3 separate regions of the Homo sapiens genome follow, and regions 2 and 3 are each linked to region 1. The links are contacts of gene promoters, found by promoter capture Hi-C in blood cells and fetal thymus (Javierre and others, 2016). All regions are on one chromosome and are shown on one strand. Each heading gives the region's core, a stretch centred on a gene start or on the middle of the fragment in contact. The rest is flanking DNA. Distances are from core to core; before and after follow the strand shown.

Region 1 (4,203 bases), core at 138-2,637:
GGTTTCACTCTGTCACCCAGGCTGGAGTTCAGTGGTGGCAATCATAGCTTACCACAGCCTCTACCTTCTGGGCTGAAGCAATCGGCCTCCCAAGTAGCTGGGACTACAGGCCCACGCCATCACACCCAGCTTTATTTATTTTTTGTATAGACGGGGTCTCCCTATGTTGCCCAGGCTGGTCTGGAACTCTTGGGCTCCAGTGATCCTCTCACTTCAGCCTCCCAAAGCGCTGGGATTATAGGCATGAGCCACCACGCCAGGCCTATATTTCATTTTAAAACAACGAAGTTCTCCTTCCTCACATACCTCAAATTCGGGGGGTACCAAATCTCTGATATTATCCCAACGATTTTTTTATAACCAAGGTATCACAATTCCTTTCAGAAAGGGTTCTTTAGCCACTCACACCACGGGTTTCGGTGGCACAGCGCAGGGCAGCACAGACTTGTGCTACAGCTCTCGGCCCTACCCAGAGCAGGATGGCCCTAACCTAATTTTTTTGTTTGTTTGTTTGGAGATGGCGTCTCACTCTGTCGCCCAGGCTGCAGTGCGGTGGCACGATCTTGGCTCACTGCAACCTCCGCCTCCTGGGTTCAAGCGATTCTCCTGCCTCAGCCTCCTGAGTAGCTGGGATTACGGGCACCCGTCACCACACCCGGCTAATTTTTGTGTTTTTAGTAGAGACACAGTTTCACCATGTTGGCCAGGCTGGTCTTGAACTGCTGACCTCAGGTGATCCGCCCTACCTCGGCCTACTAAAGTGCTGGGATTACAGGCGGGAGCCACCGCGTCCGACCTAATTTTTTGTATTTTAGTAGAGACGGGATTTCACCGTGTTGCCTAGGTTGGTCTCGAACTCCTGACCTCAGGCAGTCCACCCGCCTCTGCCTGCCAAAGTGCTAGGATTACAAGAATGAGTCACTACGAATGAGTCACTGCGCCAGGCCCCTAGCCTCACTTACTTTGGGCCTCAGTTTCCACCGCCTGAAAAAAGAGCAGTTCGATTGCACCCACTTCCCCGGGCCCCGCCCAAACCATGGGCAGCCCCGCCCAAACCATGGGCAGCCCCGCCCAAACCATGGGCAGCCCCGCCCAAACCATGGGCAGCCCCGCCCAAACCATGGGCAGCCCCGCCCAAACCATGGGCAGCCCCGCCCAAACCATGGGCAGCCCCGCCCAAACCATGGGCAGCCCCGCCCAAACCATGGGCAGCCCCGCCCAAACCATGGGCAGCCCCGCCCAAACCATGGGCAGCCCCGCCCAAGGGCGGAGACTGGGCGGAGCGTCGCGCTCTCCTCCACCTCCTTCCGACTCTCGGAGGCCCCCCACCCAGTGCCCGCGGCGCATGTGCCAGGCACACCCCACCCCCAACCGGCCCTGGATTCCACTTCCGTTCCACCATCGCTGCTGGAGCAGCTGCCTTCAGGCCCTGCGCCGCCTCCGGAGTCCATGGCCGGCACGCGCTGGGTACTCGGGGCGCTGCTCCGGGGCTGCGGCTGTAACTGCAGCAGCTGCCGGCGCACCGGCGCCGCCTGCCTGCCCTTCTACTCCGCCGCTGGCTCTATCCCGTCGGGCGTCTCGGGCCGCCGCCGCCTGCTGCTGCTGCTCGGGGCCGCCGCGGCCGCTGCCTCCCAGACGCGTGGCCTCCAGACCGGGCCTGTGCCTCCCGGGAGGCTGGCGGGGCCTCCCGCTGTGGCCACCTCTGCCGCGGCCGCGGCCGCCGCGTCCTACTCTGCCCTCCGTGCCTCTCTGCTGCCGCAGTCGCTGGCGGCGGCGGCCGCCGTCCCGACGCGCAGCTACAGCCAGGTACGTGGGCGCCGTGAGGGACCTGGCGCGAGATCCCTCCCGGGCCGCGTGCACGCGCCCCCGCGCCCCTCCGTCCCTCCGTGTGCGCCTCGCGGGCACGCCCGGGGATCCGCGACACTCGCCGCACACCCGCCCCCGTCCACCCTGTGCTCCTATTGGGCCCTGGAACAAGGGAAGCTCTCCCAGGCGTCGGGTCTTCTGCTTGTTTTGTTCTCGCCTCGAGTCTCTGGTCGGTTGGGCAGTGTAAGTGTGGCTGGGGTGAATGTTGAGGCCTTGTTCCCCGCCTGGCCCATGGTAGGTTTCGTGAGGCTGCTGACGCCCCCACCTCGCATCTTCTTGCTTTCCGCCGGCTGGTTGTGAAGTTGCGAGGCCCGAGCCCGCCGGAGGGTTGGGAGTTTCCGTGCAGCCCGAGCGCTAGGCCTGGGCGGCCCTCGGCGCCTCTCGGTCGGCCGCTGCTGGGAAGGTGCGCGCACACAGTTGCGTGGGCTGGCTTGTAGGGAAGGAGCCTGTCCCCATCGCGCCGTTCCCTCTCCTGTCCCCAGGGAAAGACGAGCTGTCCCGGTTTACTGAAGGTCACCTCTGCAACTCCACTCATACAGAAGGTCTTTAAGGACTGTGTGTCGCCTCGTCTGGGAAAGCAGTTTGGAGATTTAGCTGTTGGGGGGAGGGGGTGAATGGGAGGGAGCGTTGAGGGTTGAGGACACAACTTGGGGTCCCAGGAATGAATTTGCAATGTTTTCCTTTCCATTTTTTCTTTATTTTTTTAGAAAAGTCGGTGTGTAGTTAGATTGCAAATATTTTGTGCTTTGTAGATGAACCTTTCTCTTCTTGGTACGTGGCATCTGGGAAGTGTCTGCACACTTTTTAACTACCCAGCCCCTGATTCCTTAGGTCATATTTATCTTAATTCAATTTGTGCTTCTCCTTTAACTTAGGGAGACTGGGAGGCTAATCAGCATGGCTGCTGTCTGCCAGTGGCTGAGCTAATTGATTTGAATCCTGGCCCAATACTTTACGCTGCCTTTTTCTGTAAAAGCTTGTGATGCTTATGGAATTATGGAAAAATGGGGAAAGTTGTCTACAAAAACCACAACAAAACCATCTCCAGTAAACCTTTGTGAGCTAGCTTCTCTCTTTTTTTTTCTATGAAATTGACTGCGGTGATATCTGTAGAGCATCTACTATGTGTTAGACACTGCTTACATTTATTCCTTAAAACTAAACATTAAGCCTTTTTTTTTTTTTTTTTTTGGAGACCGAGTCTCGCTCTGTCGCCCAGGCTGGAGTGCAGTGGAATGATCTCGGCTCACTGCAAGCTCCGCCTTCCGGGTTCACGCCATTCTCCTGCTTCAGCCTCCCGAGTAGCTGGGACTACAGGCGCCCGCCACTGCGCCCAGCTAATTTTTTGTATTTTTAGTAGAGACGGGGTTTCACCGTGGTCTCGATCTCCTGACCTCGTGATCCGCCCGCCTCTGCCTCCCAAAGTGCTGGGATTACAGGCGTGAGCCACCGCGCCCGGCCTAACATTAAGCCTTAATGAAAATTATAGATAGGGCTGGGCGCGGCACTTTGGGAGGCTGCGGCGGGTGGATCACCTGAGGTCAGGAGTTCGATAGCAGGCTAACCAACATGGTGAAACTCCGTGTCTACTAAAAAAATGCAAAAAAATTAGCCGGGCGGGGTGGCGGGCGCCTGTAATCCCAGCTACCCGGGAGGCTGAGGCAGGAGAATCCTTTGAACCCGGGGAGGTTGCAGTGAGCCGAGATTGTGCCATTATACTCTAGTCTGGGCGACAAGAGCGAAACTCCGTCTCAAGAAAAAAGAAAAGAAAAGAAAATGACAGATAGTAGAAAGATATCTCTGTCCTTAGTCCGGTAGAGTGCAAGTCTTTTTTTTTTTTTTTTTTTGAGACGGAGTCTTGCTCTGTTGCCCATGCTGGAGTGAAATGCCGAGATCTCAGCTCACTGAAACCTCTACCTCCCGGGTTCAGGCGATTATCCTGCCTCAGCCTCCCGAGTAGCTGGGATTACGGGCACACGCCACCACACCCGGCTCATTTTTTGTATTTTTAGTAGAGATGGGGTTTTGCCATGTTGGCCAGGCTGGTCTTGAACTCCTGACCTCGTGATTCGCCCACCTCGGCCTCCCAAGGTGCTGGGATTACAGGCGTGAGCCACCGCACCTGGCCCAGTAGAGTGCAAGTCTTAAAGCCTGAGTTGTCTTCTTAGGTTATGGTTGTAGTGCTTCGTGGATTCTTACTAAATTCCAGTTTTACTTAATCCGATAAAAGAGACTTTACAAGTCTGTAGCCTCACACTGCTGCCGTTGTCTTTAAGATCTTTCCCTTAATCACTTGGTCTGGCATACCAGCTGACAGAGGAATATTCCCAAGGCGTC
Region 2 (4,156 bases), core at 1,427-3,926, 190 kb after region 1:
ATATCCAGCTAGTTTAGAATCAGCAGATGACCACTAGATGTAGGAACTCATCACAGAAGTGTAGTAGTAGCGGTAGGGTTCAGATGCTAAGACAAGAGGGTTACTTTTAGAGCCTCCGATATCCACCGCGTGCACCTTAACTTTAGAGCAGACTTTAAAAGCTTTATCAATAACTTAGCAAGAGCATACAGAATAATTGATTTCTTTACTGTAAGGAACTCATATCTGGTATCCAGGTTTGCAAATGCATACCTGTGCTGATGACATCAAGAGTTTTCTGGGCCGGCCACAGTGCTCACGCCTATAATCCCAGCACTTTGGGAGGCGGAGGTGGATGGATCACTTGAGGTCAGGAGTTCGAGACCAGCCTGACCAACATGGTGAAACCCTGTCTCTATTAAAAATGCAAGAATTAGCCATGCCTGGTGGCACACATTTGTAATCTCAGCTGCTTGGGAGGCTGAGGCACGAGAATTGTTTCAACTTGGGAGGTGGAGGTTGCAGTGAGCTGAGATGGTGCCACTGCACTCCAGTGTGGGCAATAGGGCAAGACTCTGTCTCAAAACAAAAACCAAAAAAAAAAAAAAAAAAAAAAGAAAACAGTTATTTTCTGGAGAGACATTTTCCCTTCTTTTCACTGTGTGTTTTCAAATTCAAAATATGTGTTCCTTTGGTCACACTATACATTTTTAGAAAAAATATTTACTTATGCTCAAGACAGTTTGGAAGTGTCACACTGTACTTTTTACATTTTACATTGCAGCGATCTCAGATGGTAGTTTAAGTAGCAGTGTCTTATAAATTCAGATATGTCAACATATCTGCCAAAACAATTATGTGAACCCATGCATTTTGGTGAAATGTGAAGTGAGTATCTTGTAATGAAAGTACTCATATTGAGATTTCAAAAAAAATCATTTGGAAAAATAAACTAGTGAAACAATAACATTTTTATTTTGAAAGGATAATTCTTAAAAGACAGTTTTATACAGAATAAGTTAATGAATTTTTCAATGTGTGATTAAAATATAAAACTGGCCAGGGGGAGGGGAATGTAAGCAGTAGGGGATGGCCTGGATAATCTACCTCTAAGATCCCTTCTAACGCTGAAATTCTATGATGGAAATGTTGCTGAATATATAAAGCTACGGAGTGGTGGCTCATTCAGCATCCTAGACAGTCACCTTTCAGGAAAAGCAGACTACGGTGTTTTCATGGGAGTGTTGAAAGTCATTAAAAAATGAATTGATATATATTTATTGGGTACCTTCTATGTTGAAGACACTGTGCTAGGTACTTCAGAAGATTCAAGGGCAAGATTCCTTTTCTTAGGAAGTTTTCAACGTTGTGTTTCCCCAAATTTTTGAGATGTTGTTATGAAATCTGCCCCTGAAGATGTATCCTAAGAAATCTCTTAAAGTTATAAAGTATGTTTTTAGGTAATTCTGAGACTTTTTTCCTGCTCTAGGCAAGGGACATCCAGATAATAGGCCAACATGTTATTAATAAGAATAATAATCCCTGATGTATTATAAGCAAGGCATATAGAAATATCCACTTTTCAAAATAATTTACACAATTTATTCAAGATACCAAGAAAGAGTGTCTGTAAGTAATTCTGCATGGACATGAAGAATGTTAGTAGTAGCACATACTGGTAGAATCCCTTATGCTGAACTAGTAAAAAAAAAAAAAAACAACTAAACATTGAGTTTTTATTTAAGACAGTGTTTCCCAAAATGTCTTCTACAGATCCTGCGGATTATGAATTGGCAGTGTGTGGCAAGTCCTAGTCTTTTTTCCTGGATGTGCAGTCTCAGAGCGGCAGTTTCTTCAGTTCCTCATTCTCCATCTTCCTAAGCCTTTTCCCTAGGCTGCTAGTTCTGGGTATCCTGCCTTCCCTTCTCCTTAAATACGTCTCTCTAACTGAACTGTGTCTACTTGGTAGAGACCCTAAGATAACTAAAAACAAAGTAGCTATCAGTGTCTACCATTTCCAAAATATATTCTGTAATGATGGTTAAGCTGGGTCAAGAAAAATTTAGGGTACGATTTGGAGAGTGGATACAAAAAGGAAGAGAGTGACATGCAGTCTTAAGATGAAAATGGTGTAACAGGGAAAAAGATAAATTGAAGGGAAGAAAGGAATCAGAGAGGAGAGGGATTAGTTGATAAGTGGTACATTGGGAGACAGAACAGATAGGTTGGAAGAGACGAAGACATAATGGAGGAGGTAGACATAAAGAAGAGACTAGAAATGGTTAAAATAGCTAATTTAATATGTAAGAAGTGATATACAGAGAGAAAAAGATGAGGATTAGAAAGCTAAATACAGAATGGTTGAGGGAGAGAGAAAAGAAGGAAGAAAGCTAAGAAAAAGAAATGATAAAGGTAAAGAGAGTGGCAGTGGAAGAAAAAAAATGCTTGAAGAGAATATTGAGTAGGAAAAAAACCTGACAAGATCAACACAAGCAAAAAACGTACAGTGCATCAGGACTATACTGATGTGTGGATCTCCATAAGTAGAATGGAAAGTTAATCTGCCTTTCAGTCTTGAAAAACCAATTTTGCAAGTATGGAACTTTGAGAGCAAAAGAAGTCATCAAGCAAAAGGAAACTAACTCAGACAAGTGACTTGCAAGTTTCGAGGCAGGGATGGTCATGGCCTTCTTGCTTTTTTAAGGTCTGCACTAATCTGTGAAAGTGCTAGATCTGGTGATCCCCAGAGGCCTAATCTCAGCTCCACCTGGGTCGCTACTCCTATTGCTGAGAGGGGAGAAAACTTAAGGATCACCAAGACAGTCAGACACTTAATTAAGTCTTGGGGAAAAAATTTTGGGAACCATTGGTATAGAATGTCAGTGATTTCTCTTTCCCCAAGAATGCTTGGTTGGATAACCCCTAGGCCTGAAGTAGTAAGCAGTCTTGTACCTGGTCCTGTACATTGGTCCCTCTTTGAAGGAATTCAAATGGACTGTGTTCATCTGCATCAAGTGGGTCTACATTTATACTCTTAAATTGTTCCTCAGTAGCTAACTCAACCAATGTGTTAGGATTTTCAGTAGGCGTAATTGAATCCCCATCAAATGGGCTTTGCCTTCCATCGCTAGATGGAGTTCCGGTGGTGGAAGAGTGATGCTTTGCTAATTTGGAGCCAAAGCATGGCAAATGCAGAATGTTAGATGGTCTTTGCTGTTGCCTCTCACTCTCATTTTCTTGGACTTGACTTTGGATGCCTTCTGGATTGGAGCCTTCATCAGGTGTACCAATAACAAGCTGCTCAGGAGTAAGGTCAACAGTTCTTTCATTGAGCTGGTTGTCTTCAAAAACTTGTTCCAGAATGTTGTTCCCATCTCCTCCAAGATCATTTTTGAGACAAGGTGTATTCTTTGATTGAAGGGAACTGGCTTCAGGAAAGGGCATAATTTCCTTTTGGCCCAGTTGATTCTTTATAGAACATGGTGTGTTCCTCCTCAGCGTGGACACATCATCTCTAAAAGGGTTTTGGCTTTCCCTCTTCTCTGAGCTGTTTCTTTGGCCTGGTAGGATGCTTGTTGGGGAGATGATATCTCTTGTCTGCTTGGTATGACTACCGTCTGTATACAGAGGACTGGTGTCTTGGTTCTCCCCAGGTGCAAGACCATAGGATGGAGTGTAGTCTTGTAGAGCTAGTGGATTGTCCTTGGGCCCTGTGGAGCTACCAGCACAGCAAGAGCCTCTCTGGCTTAGGTGAAATAAATGTGCTTCTTTTTGACCTGATGGGTAACTTGGTGGGATGAAGTTAGGGAAAGATGAATGTTCTCTCTCTGGAGAATTCATCCTAGTTATTTGCATGCCATAGTTCAAATTCTCACCTTCATGCCATATTGGATTTTTCTGAAGCCCAGCTGGGGTGTTACTGTAATAGGGCTGGTTACCTTTCTGGTCTGGTGGCCTAGCTGGGGCTTTTTGTAAATGTGTTGCCTGATCCCAGATATTTCTGTTAAAATACGGCCTTCTTTCTCTCTGCCCTTGGGCTTGTATCCTGTGGTCCCAGGAATTCCGTGAAGGAAATAGAGTGCTTTCTTCTGGTCCAGCGGCATTATTAACGTAGTAGCCCCTGCTCTCTATAGGTGGTGGCATAGTAGAAGCTGTATTATATGATGGAAAATTCTCA
Region 3 (4,535 bases), core at 1,151-3,650, 210 kb after region 1:
ACTCTGTCTCAAAAAAAAAAAAAAATCACTTATGCTCTAAGATGGTCAGGAAAATAGGAAGAAATAGGAAATAGGCAGAATAGTAAATTTATCTCTTTATTAGATACCTTGATTAAACATATAGACTTATGTATGAAGTTTGGAGATTGTTTTTAACGGGGTTCATTCATTTATCCCACTCTAGTTAATTATGAAAGACTTGTAAAATTAAGTCTCGTATTTACATCTTGGAACAAGGTTTATTCTGAAACATTTACTTGAGTAATTTCTTAAGAAAACTTTCTATTTGCATATACAATAGAGGAAAATAAAAGGTTTTAATCAGAATGATTCATTTTCATCGTATATCAGATATAGTCCATTTCCTAGCAGAGTAACCAACATGTAGACACTCAGTTGTTTTCATTCCTTTCATTCTTTCTTCCTTTTCTGGACATAAAATCTATCTAGCATAATTGGAGCCAATGCTCACCCTTCTGTTTACTTCCTATAGGAGCAACATAAATGACGCTTTAGCATTTTTATAATGGACATTTTCCTAAATTGTGGGTGTAATCAGTTATCTTTCATACATTAGAAAAATTGGCAGAATGTAATTAAACAAAGGAAGCAGTAGTATGTAAATACCTTTCCTACTATTTAAAGATTTTCAGAGTTAGAACATCATAGAGAATGAAAATAACAGCTGAATGTTATTTTAGAGTGTTTAGTATAGGTTACAACAATATGTGGAAACTAATAAAGAGAATACTGGTGAAAGCTTTCTTTGCTAAATGTTTCTAAGATTATGGCCCAAGATTTAAGGGTGCTTTTGGATGGTTAATTTCTGCCTTGCTTAATCATTCATCTCATCTCTCTAGTAGCTGTCACAGTGATTCTTGATAATATATGTAGCCTTTATATTTGCAAATAGAAAACTCATTTTCTCTTTTGTAAAATTAATATATTATGTTGGATGACTGAGATCCCTTCCATCTCTAAAAGTTAGTGATTAAAGTCTATAATTAGTTATTTTTTGAGTTGAAAGTAACACTCATAATGATTGCCACAAAGTACAATGACTGTGTAAGTTCTTCTTCCATTCCATCTGTGAAAGCAGATGCTCTTTGAGTCTTCTGATACATTTCAGTAGTGTTTGGCCCTCTCAAGTGTATTTCTGACAGTATCTAGTTTGAGAACCTGTATGTATTGGCAAAAATAAATGAAAGTACTCACCAAGTTATCTAGTTTAGGAAAAGAGGTTCCAAGCCTGCACCGAAGCACCAACATTTTTTTCAGCAAAATTTTTATAAGCCTTTAAGAAAAATACAGCTTTAACCTGAGAAGAAACTAAAATATAGAAATGGAACAAATAAATGAAATGAATAGCAAAGCTTCAGTTCTAAGGCAGCACATGTCATGTTAATTATTTTATCCAGTCATACCTGTATTAGGGGGCCACAAAATCAAGTTTAATCTTCTGTTGCTTTAAAAGTAGGATGAAAGCTAAATCAGAGAGGAAATGACACAGGCACTGTATTTTGAGATACTTCTAGGGCGATGTTGACAAAACTAGACTTCACTATGGGGAAATGTACAAAGTCACAGTAGTAAAGGAGGTCTAAGAAGGCTGGAAAAAACTTACAAGAAAAACAAATACACCAAATAAACCAAGGAGTTTAAAGTTTTATCAGAAGATTAGTCTGCATACAATGATTATACAACCAACAAGAAGGAATGCAATAAGGAGAATTAACCAACATCTATGAATTAAATTCATTATTTGACACTATATGTAATTTATGTTGATAATCTCTAATACTCACCCAATGCCAATTAGAAGCTGTAATATATAAAAAATAATTTTTACTTGAACTTTGTTAGCTTGCCTTTGAAATATATTCTTAATGGTCTATAGTGGAAATAACTACAAATTGCTGAAGCCAGGGAGATCTCAAGAAGCAAGATACATTTATTTCTTAATAATAAAACAAAAATTCTTCACTCAGATATCATGTTCAGTATCAAAAAGGCTCAAAATAAAAAGATTCCTCCTTGTCAGAAAGCTTGGCACAGCAAGGTTCCATTTAAGCACTGTTGTAGACCTGCATAACCAATCAGCTTTGAGGAAAATGGTTTTGTCATCACAAGAGTTTAAGGTAAAAAACACACATCGAATTTAAAATTTAGAATGTGTTATTATAGGAGCTGTCAAGTCAAGTCTCTTATTACGTATAATAACAGTCCAGGAAAATGAGCTTACAGCAGTAAGATTTAGAAGATGCTTCCCTTGGTGAATTTGGCTTTCAAAGTATAGAAACTATGTTTATAACAAAGATATTTCAGGAACAAAGGCGAATATTAACTGTATGCTATTGTCATAAGTCAGTTGCCTTCATCAAAAGGCAGGCTAATATATATATTTACTTAATATACATTTTATATGTAATTAAAATGAACTGGAATGTTATATCCATGGGTGAAAACTCAGTGACTTGATTTACTTTGTATTACATAAGGCTAGCAGGACATAGTGTTCTTTTTGAAGTCAAATATAATCCAGTCACTGGGGATTCAGAATTTTAGATGAGTTGGGTACAATGGCAAATGAACTCTCAGCTATTATGATAATACAACTTAATGAAAATAGGACCTGAGTAATTTAATGAAACAGTTATGTTATGGATTTTTTTCCTGAAATCTGACTTTCCATAATAAAGATTTCACTTTCAAATAGATAGGCCAATTGCACTTTTAATTGACAAGAGCAAGCTTTGCTATCTTTGCTTAACTTGGATTCTCCTGTTCTCTTATGGCTTCACAAGAGAAAACATTTGTTGTGGCAATGTTTGCTTATTTTAATGTTGGGATTTAAAAACCAAGAATGAATGAACTTGATGGCAAAACCTGTTCCTACTTGGTATGATTGTGTATATAAGTTAATCCAGTGGTTGCCCATGGTGCTGTTCTTCCAAGGACAGAGAAGTGCTGTGTCATTCCTTTTGGGCCAAATAGCATTGTATTTCTCAGTGCCTCTCTGCTCCACATATTTCGTGCCACAAATAATAAAAATGTGCTAGAATATTTGACTTTAAATGAAGCTAGGACTATCTTTTAACTCTATGTGTATCCAAGATGTGCAAAGTTAAATCTGCTTCAAGTACCTGCTTGCCTTTGTCTGATTTTGTAGAAACTGAGTAGTATTTATCATATTGTGTGCACATTGAGATGAATTTGCAAATGGTAGGACACTTACGGGACAGTGACCTACAGTGTGTTCTTGGAAGTGAAATGGGAGTTCTGATGCTGGATGACCTGGCCTATCCTGTGCCCATTCATGTAGAGGGTAATTTTTGATTTTGGCCTTACCCATATAGGTTGTTGGGAGTTGCCACTAAACCTCACTTTTGATCACTTTCCTCTATTTACCCTTGTTCTCTTGGCCACAAGGGTGGTTAGTTGTCATGAAATAATTCATGTTTCTAAAATCCAGCCAAGCTATTGAATGAGTGAATTCTTAGTACTGTTGGATTGGATTGGGAGAATTACCAAATTTCCTTTCATTTAAAGGAAAAAAAAAAGCTCAAACTTTATAATTTTTTTTTTTTTTTGAGACAGAGTCTGGCTCTGTCACCCAGGCTGGGGTGCAGTGGCGCGATCTTGGCTCACTGAAACCTCTGTCTCCTGGGTTCAAGTGATTCTCCTGCCTCAGCCTCTAATGTAGCTGGGATTACAGGCATGAGCCACTGTGTCCAGCCTATAAAATGTTTTGAAATCAGTCCTTTATGAGTTTTTCCCCCTTTACTTTATCTCTATTTATTTTGTAAATTATTTTTCCCTTCAGGCAATTACAACTGTTTGTGAAACATGTTTATGATTTGGCTTAAATTTTTTTTTTTAATGTATCTCTTTGATTTTTTTCTCTACATTACCCTTCTCAGTCTTAAAATAAGATGTGTTAACCTGGGAGCTGAAACCTAAGAAATTGCATATAAGAATTTGTGCATTTGTGTGTAAATGTACCATTTTTTTCTCCCCCTGAAAAAGAACCCATATTCTCCAGGGGGCCTGTGAACTTCTTCCTTTGCCTCCACTCTTTAAGGTCCCCTCATTGCTCTAGATTTTAAGCCAGCAGGAGCAGAAAAGTCTTTTGATTTCATACTCTAGATGTAAGGGAAAGAGGCTGGGTTTTGAAATTGCCAGATCTAAGTTTAAACCTTCCACAAATTATCCAGCTGTTCAATTTCCTGTTCAGTAAAATGAGGGCAATATTACCTTCCTCATAAGTTTCCTCTAAGAAATGAATGAAGTAATAAATATAGCTTGGGCCACAAAGTGGGACTCCATCTCTACAAAAAAATATATTAACCAGCCACAGTGGTGTGTGCCTGTAGTCCCAGCTACTCGGGAGGCTGAGATGGGAGGACAAGAGGGCTCCTCAAGGAGCCCAGGAGGTCAAGGTTGCAGTGAGCTATGATCGCACCGCTGCCCTCCAGCCTGGGTGAGGCAGAGAGAGACCCTGTCTCAAAAAAAAAAAGTGAAATGCCTGGCTCCTA

The links. The method cuts DNA at HindIII sites, captures the fragments that hold promoters and counts their contacts. A CHiCAGO score of 5 or more calls a contact.
Region 2: a fragment that was not itself captured here is called in contact with the fragment with the promoter of GRSF1 in region 1 in 7 of 17 cell types (total B cells, monocytes, activated CD4 T cells and 4 more); the score reaches 9.1 in total B cells.
Region 3: a fragment that was not itself captured here is called in contact with the fragment with the promoter of GRSF1 in region 1 in 2 of 17 cell types (fetal thymus and erythroblasts); the score reaches 6.8 in fetal thymus.

What each region holds. Positions count from the first base shown.
Region 1 is chr4:70,837,074-70,841,276 of GRCh38, reverse strand. It overlaps GRSF1 (G-rich RNA sequence binding factor 1), which reads left to right and starts at 1,387. Exons shown (of 10, transcript NM_002092.4): 1 at 1,387-1,806. The coding sequence starts at 1,450. It overlaps LOC124900710 (a long non-coding RNA gene), which reads right to left and starts at 2,285. Exons shown (of 3, transcript XR_007058131.1): 1 at 2,132-2,285. RefSeq lists silencers at 1,120-1,369, 1,430-1,979 and enhancers at 1,376-2,029, 2,030-2,684. The HindIII fragment of the contact is 9,073 bases long and covers 1-2,844 here.
Region 2 is chr4:70,643,601-70,647,756 of GRCh38, reverse strand. ENAM (enamelin) reads right to left here. Exons shown (of 9, transcript NM_031889.3): 9 at 933-4,156. The coding sequence ends at 2,902. Among named protein-coding and RNA genes, the nearest start is that of ENAM, 17 kb to the right of the region's middle. The HindIII fragment of the contact is 5,025 bases long and covers 164-4,156 here.
Region 3 is chr4:70,626,235-70,630,769 of GRCh38, reverse strand. ENAM (enamelin) reads right to left here and starts at 2,026. Exons shown (of 9, transcript NM_031889.3): 1 at 1,806-2,026; 2 at 1,216-1,329. The coding sequence starts at 1,269. The HindIII fragment of the contact is 706 bases long and covers 2,048-2,753 here.